Linked DNA regions of Homo sapiens: region 2 is linked to region 1. Evidence: promoter capture Hi-C in 16 types of primary human blood cells and fetal thymus (Javierre and others, 2016). All regions are on one chromosome and are shown on one strand. The core of a region is centred on a gene start or on the middle of the fragment in contact, and the rest is flanking DNA. Distances in the headings are between cores, read along the strand shown. Region 1 holds the start of TMPRSS6 (transmembrane serine protease 6). Region 2 overlaps CACNG2 (calcium voltage-gated channel auxiliary subunit gamma 2).

Region 1 (4,982 bases), core at 185-2,684:
ACGCACATTCTACACATACATAATCTACACACACAAATTCCAGACTGTCTCTCTTACACACACACTCTGGGACCCATATGCCCACAGCACACAGCATCTCAGGCGTGCACCCCGCATTCTGGCCTCAGGATGTAGACTCGCTGAAAGTCAGCCTTGTCTGAGACAGACGCCCGCTGCCCTGCACGCACCCTAGAAAGCCCTGGCTCCCATCCGGCACTTCGGCACGCATATGGCTCAAACCCATCTCCACAGCAACGCTGTTCCATAGAACAACAACGCAGGTCACACTTGTGACTTAACCTGTCTAATATCCACATGCAACAAGGGGTGTGGTGGCCCGCGCCTGTAATCCCAGCTACTTGGGAGGCTGAAGCAGGAGGATCATGTGGGCCCAGGAGCTCCAGACCAGCCTGGCAACCTAATGAGACCCTGTCTCTGAAAAAAAAAAAAACAAGAGAGCCAGAAGAAAATTGCTTTTAATAATACATTTTATTTATCCCATGATCACCAGTGTTATTTCAACATAAAATCAATATAAAAATTGTTATCGCGTTGGTTGACATCCTGTTTGCACTTGGCCTTGGAAACCTGGTGTGCGTCTCCCCCGTGCAGCTTTTCTCAGTTCAGACTGACTCAAGAGCCACGGGTGACCAGCGGCTACCGTCATGGACAGCACAGCGCTACGGAACCAGGTAGGAATTCATGCTGCGTGCGGTCGCTCATGCCTGTAATCCTAGCGTTTTGGGAGGTCGAGGTGGGTGGAATCACTTGAGGTCAGGAGTTCGAGACCAGCCTGGCTAACATGGTGAAACCCCATCTCTTCTAAAATTATGAAAATTAGCCGGGCATGGTGGTGGGCGCTGTAATCCCAGCTACCTGGGAGGCTGAGGCAGGAGAATTGCTTGAACCCGGGAGGCGGAGGTTGCAGTGAGCCGAAATCACACCACTGCACTCTAGCCTGGGTGACGGAGTGAGACTCCATCTTAAAAAAAAAAAAAAAAAAAAAAAAGAACGAGGTAGGAATTCAAATAATTCCCAGCTAAACAGAAAATAGCATCAAACCCCACCCCTGCCTCCCCTTTCTCCTCTCCAGTCCCCAGAGTATATGGGCCCAGCCTCCTTTTCTCTCTCTCAGGCCAGCAGCTCCTTTAGTCTCGCCTGTCCAGGTAAGCACCTGGACTCACCCTTGTGAGCCCCTGCACTCACCTGCACCGGCCTCTGCACAGTCCCCAGTCCTTGGCTGTCCCTACCTCATGCTCTCGGGGACCAGGGGCTGTAACCAGGCAGGCATGTCACCAGGCAACGGGCCTCGGGGGAGAGCTCAGATCTCCCGCACCTGCCTGCCAGCCTCTGGGGTGCCCATGCGGGGGTGGGGGAAGATGGGGCGGGGCAGGCACTGCCTTCTCCTACCTCCTGCCTGTTTACCTGTACTTAGTCACAGTGCTGTCCAGGACCCAGCAGGAGGAGTTCCATGGAGCCTGAGGCCACAGGCCACAGGGGACAAGGGCCAGACACCCTGGTCATGGCTCTAGGCCATTGATCCAGCCTGGGCTGGCTGGGTGGGGGTGGGGAGGCCTTGGCCTGGACAAACAGAGGCTCCTGAGGCCTGTGTGCAGGCCCGGCACCTATCTGCCGCTCCCAAAGGTAAGCGGGGGCCTCCAGGACAGGGGACCGGGATCTATAAATGACCTAGTGACAGTGTCCACCCTAAGAGCTGGGCCTGGCTCCCTGCAGCCTGAGCCACCTACCCTGCTCCGAGGCCAGGCCTGCAGGGCCTCATCGGCCAGAGGGTGATCAGTGAGCAGAAGGTGAGGGGCCCACAGAGCTGGGGAGGGGAGGGACCACGCAGGGTGACACCAGGTGTGTGGACAGGCACAGCATCAGTGCTGGGTGGTTGGTGGCCTGGGATTCAGGTGGCAGGGACAGGAGGAAGGGAGAGGCCACCCTACCCCTGCCTCGCAGGACTGGACATGCTGCCCCCTCCACACCCGGTACCCCACCTGGGCCTTCTGGTGTAGGAGACAGGCCCGGAGCCCCACATTGCACCTATGTACTGACTTAAGCCCAGGACCCTGGGCTCACAGGCTCAGAGTTGGCATGTATGTGTATGTGTGTTCGTGTGTGTGTCTGTGTAGGAAGGGCGTGCATCTATGAATTTTTGTGTCATGAATAGATGTGCGTATATCCCTCCGCGTGTCTCCATCTGTGTACATCTGTGGGTCTGTGAGTGTGTTTATATGTGTGGAAGGGACCCCCACCCAGTCCCCCACACTCTCAGGACTCTAGGGCCTAATGGTTTCACTGAAAGATGCCCCTATGGCCCTAGCCCAGAGTCCCTGCTCTGCTCTGCTCTGCCCTGGCTGAGGGACCTCGGGTAAGTCATGTTACCTCTCTCTACCTCAGTTTCCCCAGCCATTAAATAGAGTCAGCAAAGTAGGCACCCCAGGCTGTTGGAGGCTGCAGTGGAGTTTGCAGCACTGCCCAGCACAGGGCTGGCACATGGTAGGAGTTCATACGCAGTGGTTGAATCCGGATCTGCATTGCTGGGGGAGTCGCGGCCCCGCCCCAAGGAGCTCAGCCTCCAGCAGGCAGACCCGAGACCCTCCAATGGCCAGAAGGGCAGGAGGGAGTGAGGAGCAGGTGCCAGGGTGGGGTCCATGGTGCTCAGAGCTGGGGGACTGCTTCAGGCCCCTGTGGCAATTGGAGCACAGTCCCCGCTTCCAGGAGTTCAATGTGAGGGGCAAAGAGAGAGTGCCCACAGGTAAGCTGCACATCGCGAGGGGCAGCCGCCCCTTCTAGGGCACTCTGGGAGAGCTGCGAAGAGGTGAGGTCTGAACTGAGGTGACAGGGGCTGCATAAGAGCTGGCCAGGTTGGGAGGTGGGGGCCCAGGCAGAAGGAAGAGTGTGGGGACGCCTGGCCGTGAACAAGCACTGACAGGGCTCAAGGTCCACGAGGGCTCTTGGTGCCGGCTGGCTGCTCTTAATCCATAAATGTTTGCTACCATCCCATTGTTAAAATTTCTCACCAATGGAAGTCCAGTGTCCTTGGGGTGCGACGGGGAAAAGAGAGGGTGGGAAAAAAGGAGGCAGGAGAAGTTGGCCAGGCCACATATGCACACAGCACCTTGGACTTCTGTAGGGAGGAAGGAGCTGGGACCTTGTCATTCATTCATTTAACAATTACTGAGTGTCCGCTGAGTACCAGACTCTGCTCTCATGCAGCTTACAGACAGGGAGGAGGCAGATAAATGACATATTTGCATATCAGGCAATTTAGGCCTCTGTAATTGCTATAAAGAAAAATGCAGGAGAGACGGGAGTGCCCAGGGAAGGCCTCTCTGGAGAGGTGACATCTGACCCTTTGGAGGAGGTAAAGGAGGGAGCCACGAGGCCAGCAGAAAGGAAAACATCCCAGGCCCAGCAAGGAGCAAACCTCCCATTCAGCAAAGAGGACAGGAAAACTGAGACCCTGGGTCTTTAGGGACTGTGTTCTAGGTGGATGGAAGCCGTGCGAGGCTTGTGGGCAGGGCACATGGTGACAACACGCAGTGGCCATTGTGTGAGAACTCACTGGGTAGGGGGGTGGGTGATTGGCTATTGCAGGAGTCGAGGTGACAGATGACGGTGGCCTGGATGATGGTGGGAGTCATGGGGGGCCAAGAAGGGGCTGGCTTTGGGGGGCATTTGGAAGGTAGGGCCACAGGCTTTTCCAAAGGTGCTGGACCCTGGGAATGGGGGAGCCGTTGTATTATAAGATAGTAAAGACAAGAGTGGCACCGTCATCTTCACAACTGTCCACTGCCCCTCCTCCTGCTGGGCAGGAAACCCAAGAGGATGGGAATGAGGTCTCTTAGAGTCACCATGTGCCACCCTGTCGCCACCACAGAGCCTGGCACCAAGCAGGTGCTAGACAAAGATAGGGTGACTGAGCATTGAACCTGGGACCCCACAGGCCCACACCATTGTCCATGCCCCAGTGCCAGGCCTCACAAGTCCTCCTTCCTGGAGGCAGCAAGATAGAAAGCCCTGTACCAGGGGCCTAGAGACTTGGCAGTTTCATTCACTCATTCTTTCTGATCCTTCACTCATGTGACGGGCTGTGCGGCGTTCCATGGGGAACCCCAGAGGTGAGCAAGATGCTGGCCCTGCCTGTTCTGTAGGGGACAGAGGCAAGACCCAAAGCCAAGGCATATTCTTGATCTGATCAAGGGCTGCCCAGGGGAGGGGGCAGCTTAACTAGCCAGGGGCCCAGAACCCAGTGCCTGGCAGGTCGCCTGGTAAGAGTTCCCCACAGTCCAGGCAGGGGGACTCAGCTGCACAAAGGCAGGGTCTCGTGGGCCTGGGGCACCATGTGCATGATGGAAGTTATAGCCACGAGGAGGGTGGACAGCAGCCTGGCCATGGAGGGTCTTGGATGTCGCAGCAAGGGGTTTGGATGATAAGTGGCTGGGAGCTGTGAAAGGATCCTGAGCAGGTGAGCGATTGAGCTGGGGAGGGAGGATGCGCTGGAAGACGCAATGGAGGCAGGGGACCTAGTGAGGAGGCCGCCCCAGGGGTTTGGGTGGGAAGTTATGATGAGCCCGGGGGAATTAATTTCCCACTACTGCCATTTGGACCATGGCTTGGGTTTTTACAGAGGGTGTCCTGAAAATGAGCCTCTCTGTGCTGCTCAAAGTCCTCCCAGATGGATGCGAGGGGCATTTAGAGGGAGGCAAAATCTGCATAGAGAAGGACGCCTGGCTTGGAGGATGAGAGGGGAGGGGAGGCCCACCAAGCACCCCACCATGAGCTGCCCCTCTTCGGGCTTCCTCTAATGGACCCACGACCTGCTCCGAGCCTCAGTTTCCCTCTCTTTACACTGATTATCTGAGAGGTAGTAGGGCTCAGTGATCAGGGCGTCACTCTGAAGTCAATCTGCTTGACTTTGCAGCCTGGCTGTGCTGCTGACCAGCTGTGTGACCTTAGCCAAGCTGCTCAACCTC
Region 2 (5,300 bases), core at 487-2,986, 490 kb after region 1:
CAGACCTCTATCAGCAATACTCTCTAGTTTCCAGGAACTTACACTCTCGCTGGGGAGACAGGTGAATGGGAACAATTGGAGACAGGAAAATCCGGTGAATCGTAAGGCGCTAGACTATGGCGTGCAGCCTTACCAAGATAAATCCCAGTAGTGAAAGACAGGTATTTAATATGTCTTATCTAAAATGCAGCTGCATGAAAAATGCATCAGAAATTCAAGGATAGAATTCTAACAAGGGAGAATTTTAATAATAATTCAATATTAAAATAACTCAACAATAATAAGTAACATTTACAGAGTTCTTAGTATGTATCAGGCACTTCTCTAAGCATCACACCAAATTAACTCATTTGACCTTCACACAACACTAGGAGGATTATTCTTTTCTTATCTCCATATCACAGATGAGGACACCAGGGCAACAAGAGGTTAAGTAATTCAAGGACATTGTCACTCAAGGGACACGAGATCTGGAGTCAGATGACATAAGTTTCTGAGTTGAGGGTCTTTGGGGCAAATGATTTTACTTTTCTGAGCTCTGGATTTGAAAAATAGGAGAGATAAACACTCCATCTACCACGTGTGTGGTTGAATAATATTATGTGAGGAATAAATAAGAGAATGTTTGAACATAGACACACTTTCATACCTTGACATGCAGTACATCTGTGAGTTCTTTCTTTTTTTAACTAACACAATTTTTTTAACTAACACTATTTTTTTTAACTAACACTATTGTGACATTATTTCTTTGGAAAGCAGAAAGCTAAATCAGACTGTTCCACAAATATTTACTGAGCACCTGCTACATGCCAGTCATGGGTCTATACTCTGGTGCTGCAACAGTGAGCAGAGCAAAGCCCCGCCCTCGTGGATCGTCCATTCTAATGGGACTAACAGTAAACATAAAAATAAATAAAAATGTGATAGTGGTAAGATGAATGCAGGGTACGTGATAAGAAGAAAATTAACCCAGCTGGGGGAACAGAGAATGATGGTCATATCATTTTTGTCCTGAATAAGTGAGGAGCCCATCATGCGGATGCAAAACAAGAGCATTCTAGACAGGGGAGCCATGGTGCAAGAGGCCCAGAGGGGAAGTCTGCTTGTTGTATGGAAAGAGAAATCAGGAATCCAGTGTGGCTGAGCAGTCAGATTGTGGAAAGCGGCAGTTGAGCGTAGCAGTCATCACAGACTAAACCAAGAAGGGCCCTGCAGGTGTGGTACCCATGAGATACAGGAAATCCAACCACTGGGCAGTAGTTTGTGCAGTTTGTTCACTAGTCTTATCTGTGAGATTCCTGCCAATCACTACAAACCTTGTACACACACTTGCCCTCCCAACCAAATCAGATGCAGCCTTATAGGCTGTAGTGGACATATGGCTGCGAATACCTTCATTCAATTCATTTATTCTCCAGACATTTACTGGGCACCTGGTGCAAGCCAAAGCCCTGGATGGGCAGTGGAGGTACATTGTGAACAAAATACACATAGTCCGTTCTCCAAGAGCAGACCTCTGCTAGAGAGGGAGATAGGAAGTAAACTGCATCACAGTGACAGAGGCCCTTGTCATCTGGCACCGCTCAAGAGATGAGGCAAGGACAAGGGAAGCTTGGAAAGGCGAAATGCATTCTTCCCCCAGACTCCGAAGCTTCTTTCTCCATGTGCAGTAAGTCCACGGACATAAGCCATTATGTCAGTACTGCCAATTCCAGATCTCAGCTAGTAACGAGCAAATGGATCGTTGCAAACCACAGAAAATCCCCAAACCTCCTTTGAGTCAATAGGTGTGTTCTCTTCCCTCCACAAGCTTTTCAGTAACTACGCTAAGCCCAGCAAAATTGATTATGGCATCACAGGCCTCACCACTTGCTGCTCCCACCACCCTGCCTGCTCTCTGTGGATGTGCTGACCCGGGGCTGGATGGTGCTTGGGTGCATCGGAAACATGAGAGGGTGGACAGGCTGCCTCTGCCTCTGCCTCAGGATACAATGATGAATGCAGCAGCTCTTCAAGGGGCTTTCACACCAGTGGAGGAGACAGGCAAGGAAGCAGGCCACAGGCCTTTCAATGTAGTCCAGGAATGTCGCCATACCAAAGAGTGCGGGGTGCCATGGGAACCAGAAGGAGCTGCCGGCTCAGGATTTGGGGTGATGTGGGGGAAGGGACAGTCTTCAAGGAAGCCTTCCTCAAGGAAATGATGTGTAAACTGAGCACTAAGGCATCAATAGGGAGTATCCAGGGGTGGGCAGAGAGGAGAAGTGATAGAGAAGTGAGTTGGGAAGGACAGCCAGGAAGCACGTGGCAAACGTCCAGAGATAGGAGAGAGCGTGGTGGGTCCTGGGACTTACAACAGGATGTAGTTTCTGAAGATCAAAGCAGCTGTCGAATTGTGGTGGACCCTGTTGACCTTGTCAAAGAGTTTGGACGTCATCCTGTAGGAATGGGGAGGCACTGAGGAGAGGCAGCTCCGATTTCACCTTTTGTAAATCACAGTGACTACAGAGTGGAAGTAATCAGTGGTAGGGAAGAGGGAAGCAGGGGAGCCACTTGGGGGTTGGAGGGTGTTCTGAGAGTGCAGGGAACGGTTGGTAGGGGTCCAGATTCAAGACATGTTAAAGAATTGGCGATTTGCTGGGAGTGGAGATGAAGAGGTAGAAATCAAGGATGACTCCAAGGTTTGCAGCTTGGGAAATGGGCTGGAGGAAGGCATGATTTATTATTGAGCCAGCATAAGAGGATGGGGGAAATGGACACTAAGTTCAGGTTGAGGTTCAGATATCTGTGGGATATTCACGGGGGGACAGCCAGCGCACCAAGAACTCAAGGGAAAGAAGACAGGACTGGGTTGTATATAAAGACTTGTGGGTCATCAGTATGTAAGTGAAAACGGAAGCCAGAGATGAGATTTCTGAGGAACATATGTAGAATGAAAAGAGAAGACAGCCAAAGAGAGAGCCCCAGAAACACCAAATGTACAAGATAATCAGAGGAAGAGGACCTTGCAAAGGAGTCTGAAAATGAACAGGAAGAAAACCAAGCAACCTTGAGGACCCAGACGCCAAGGGAAGACGGCACATCAAGAAAGAAGCCAGGTGGTCAGATTACTCAAATCATGTCAACGGTGCATAGCAAAAGCTGTAGGGGCATGTGTAGATGCTGACTGTAGGGACATGTATAGAAATGCCTCCCACACTAGCACTTGAGGGAGAAAGGTATTAGAAACCTTTGCATTTTGCTTTTTCATTACTCCCTGCTGTGCATGAAAGTACAGGTGTGAAATCCAAGATTCATTTACTGCAGTGTTCCCCAAAGAGTGATCCAAAGATTGTAGCCCCGTGAGATGAAAGACACACATGCACACACACACACACACACACACACACACACACAGAGAGCCTGTAATGAAATGAACTTTTGGAAACATTGAGCACTATATTCCCACATTAGAGTTTGACAATGCAGTTAGCATAGTAAAGGCACAGAAAAGCCCTGAGGTAAGGAAACCTATTTAACCTCCCCTTGTTCAGCATTTCCCAAACTTACTTGCCAGTGGAACCCCTTTATTTTGTATCTCCTCTTAGCATCTCCTGGGGCTGGAATCAGCAGAATGAACTTTGGAAATCACAGCATTAGCGGGAAAGGATGTGTCTAATGGATGAAATACCTGCAGCCGGTAAACCACTGGTAAAAAGCATCCTCTCCCAAGCTTAGGACAAAAGACTTCTTTGGTCTGGGTTCTCTCATTCATTCATTGAGCTAAAACATATCAGGCATCTGCTAAGTGGTAGCAAGCTGGAAGGTGGTGGAGGGGGTATGTTTGGGAAAGTGAGGATTGAGGAGCGTGGGAAGCACATTCTTTGGACATGTGTTGTGTGCTCGTGGTGGAGCGTATGACCAGCCAAATAACCAGGCGGATGCTGGCCAAGTGAGAGGGTTGTGGGAAGAGGCATAACCAGGAGGTGGCCTCTCTCCTCCAAGAAGTTATGAGATTTCCAGGGACGATAAACTATGAATGTACGGAAGATATTGGCTGGTAAAAACAATGAAGAAAACTAGTAAGGATCTCAGGGACTTAGGAGGCTAGAGTCTTTTACTCCAGGCAGAGTAGAAGATTATTCTCAATGTGGTTGTAGTCAATACCATTTATTAAGCATCTACTATGTGCCAGGCACCTTATGTTATACTAATATAGTAATGGCTGACATTTAATGAATCCCTACTATGCATAAAGTACTCTTCTAAGTCCATTACAAATATTAGCTGGCCTATCCTTCCAATACCCCAGTAGATACTTATCATTGTATTCTCCAATAAAGAATGTAAGGCACTAAGAGGTGACATGTCTTACCCGAGGTCATGGCTAGTAAGTGGCAGCCCTGAGATTTGAACCCACACAGGCTGGTTCTTCCAGATATTATACTCTTATGCATTACATTCTATATCTAATAAAATGTCCTACTGATACTTGAACTTGGATTGCTGGAGTCTGCAGCTAAAGTGCTTACCATTAAGCCCTGGAACCACCCACATTATTTATGCTCTTTAATCTTCACAACCATGTTTTGACATTGGTGTTATTAACCCGGTTTACAGAGGAGGCTCAGGGTATCCACACAACTCATAGCCAGCAGCACTGACACTCCTGAATTCGTGGAGTCTGATGCTGAAACTCATGGTCCCAGGTCTCTACTCCCTTGTCCCCGAGACGGCTATCATTTTTACAGGCTGGAATTGGGGATGATGGTCAGCAGATTTCACAACTGCTGAGGCCTCGGTCCTGACCAGACAGAACAGACGCCGGCCACAGTGCTAGAACAACAGCCTGGAGACCCGCGGCTGGTCAGACTCCCACACTTTAGTTGCTGGGGAGGCTCAAGAGATCCCAGTGGAGGGGCTGGAGGGACCAAAGCAGTGGGCAGAAGGGGCATTTCGGGGTGCTTGGACAGCAGGCATTTTATCAACTCATATTTGACTATTGATGTAGCTATATCAGTACCTGCCTGCCTGATGTCAGTCCTGGCCAGGATCACAAACACAGCTGTTTACCAGTTCCTGGCAGCCTTGAGCTTCATTGCCCTTGGACTCTGGGCCAAGTGGGCTTAAAGGCAGTTCCCCTGTCCAACATTTGCCTCTGAAGAGTCTGCACCTGACCTGGGGTCATAGCCCTGAGTCTCAAATAGGTCAGGTTCATTTGCATCATTCTGTGGTCACATGCTGCAGCCACAATCCTAGCATATGCAGAGTTCCAAGCACAGAATGGGCCGGGACCCTCCATCACCTCTACCAGAAATGCC

The links. The method cuts DNA at HindIII sites, captures the fragments that hold promoters and counts their contacts. A CHiCAGO score of 5 or more calls a contact.
Region 2: a fragment that was not itself captured here is called in contact with the fragment with the promoter of TMPRSS6 in region 1 in 1 of 17 cell types (M1 macrophages); the score reaches 5.1 in M1 macrophages.

What each region holds. Positions count from the first base shown.
Region 1 is chr22:37,106,165-37,111,146 of GRCh38, reverse strand. TMPRSS6 (transmembrane serine protease 6) reads left to right here and starts at 1,434. Exons shown (of 18, transcript NM_001374504.1): 1 at 1,434-1,644. RefSeq lists an enhancer at 2,703-3,204. The HindIII fragment of the contact is 29,267 bases long and covers 1-4,982 here.
Region 2 is chr22:36,611,253-36,616,552 of GRCh38, reverse strand. All of the region lies in intron 1 of CACNG2 (calcium voltage-gated channel auxiliary subunit gamma 2), which reads left to right. Among named protein-coding and RNA genes, the nearest start is that of EIF3D, 85 kb to the right of the region's middle. The HindIII fragment of the contact is 159 bases long and covers 1,657-1,815 here.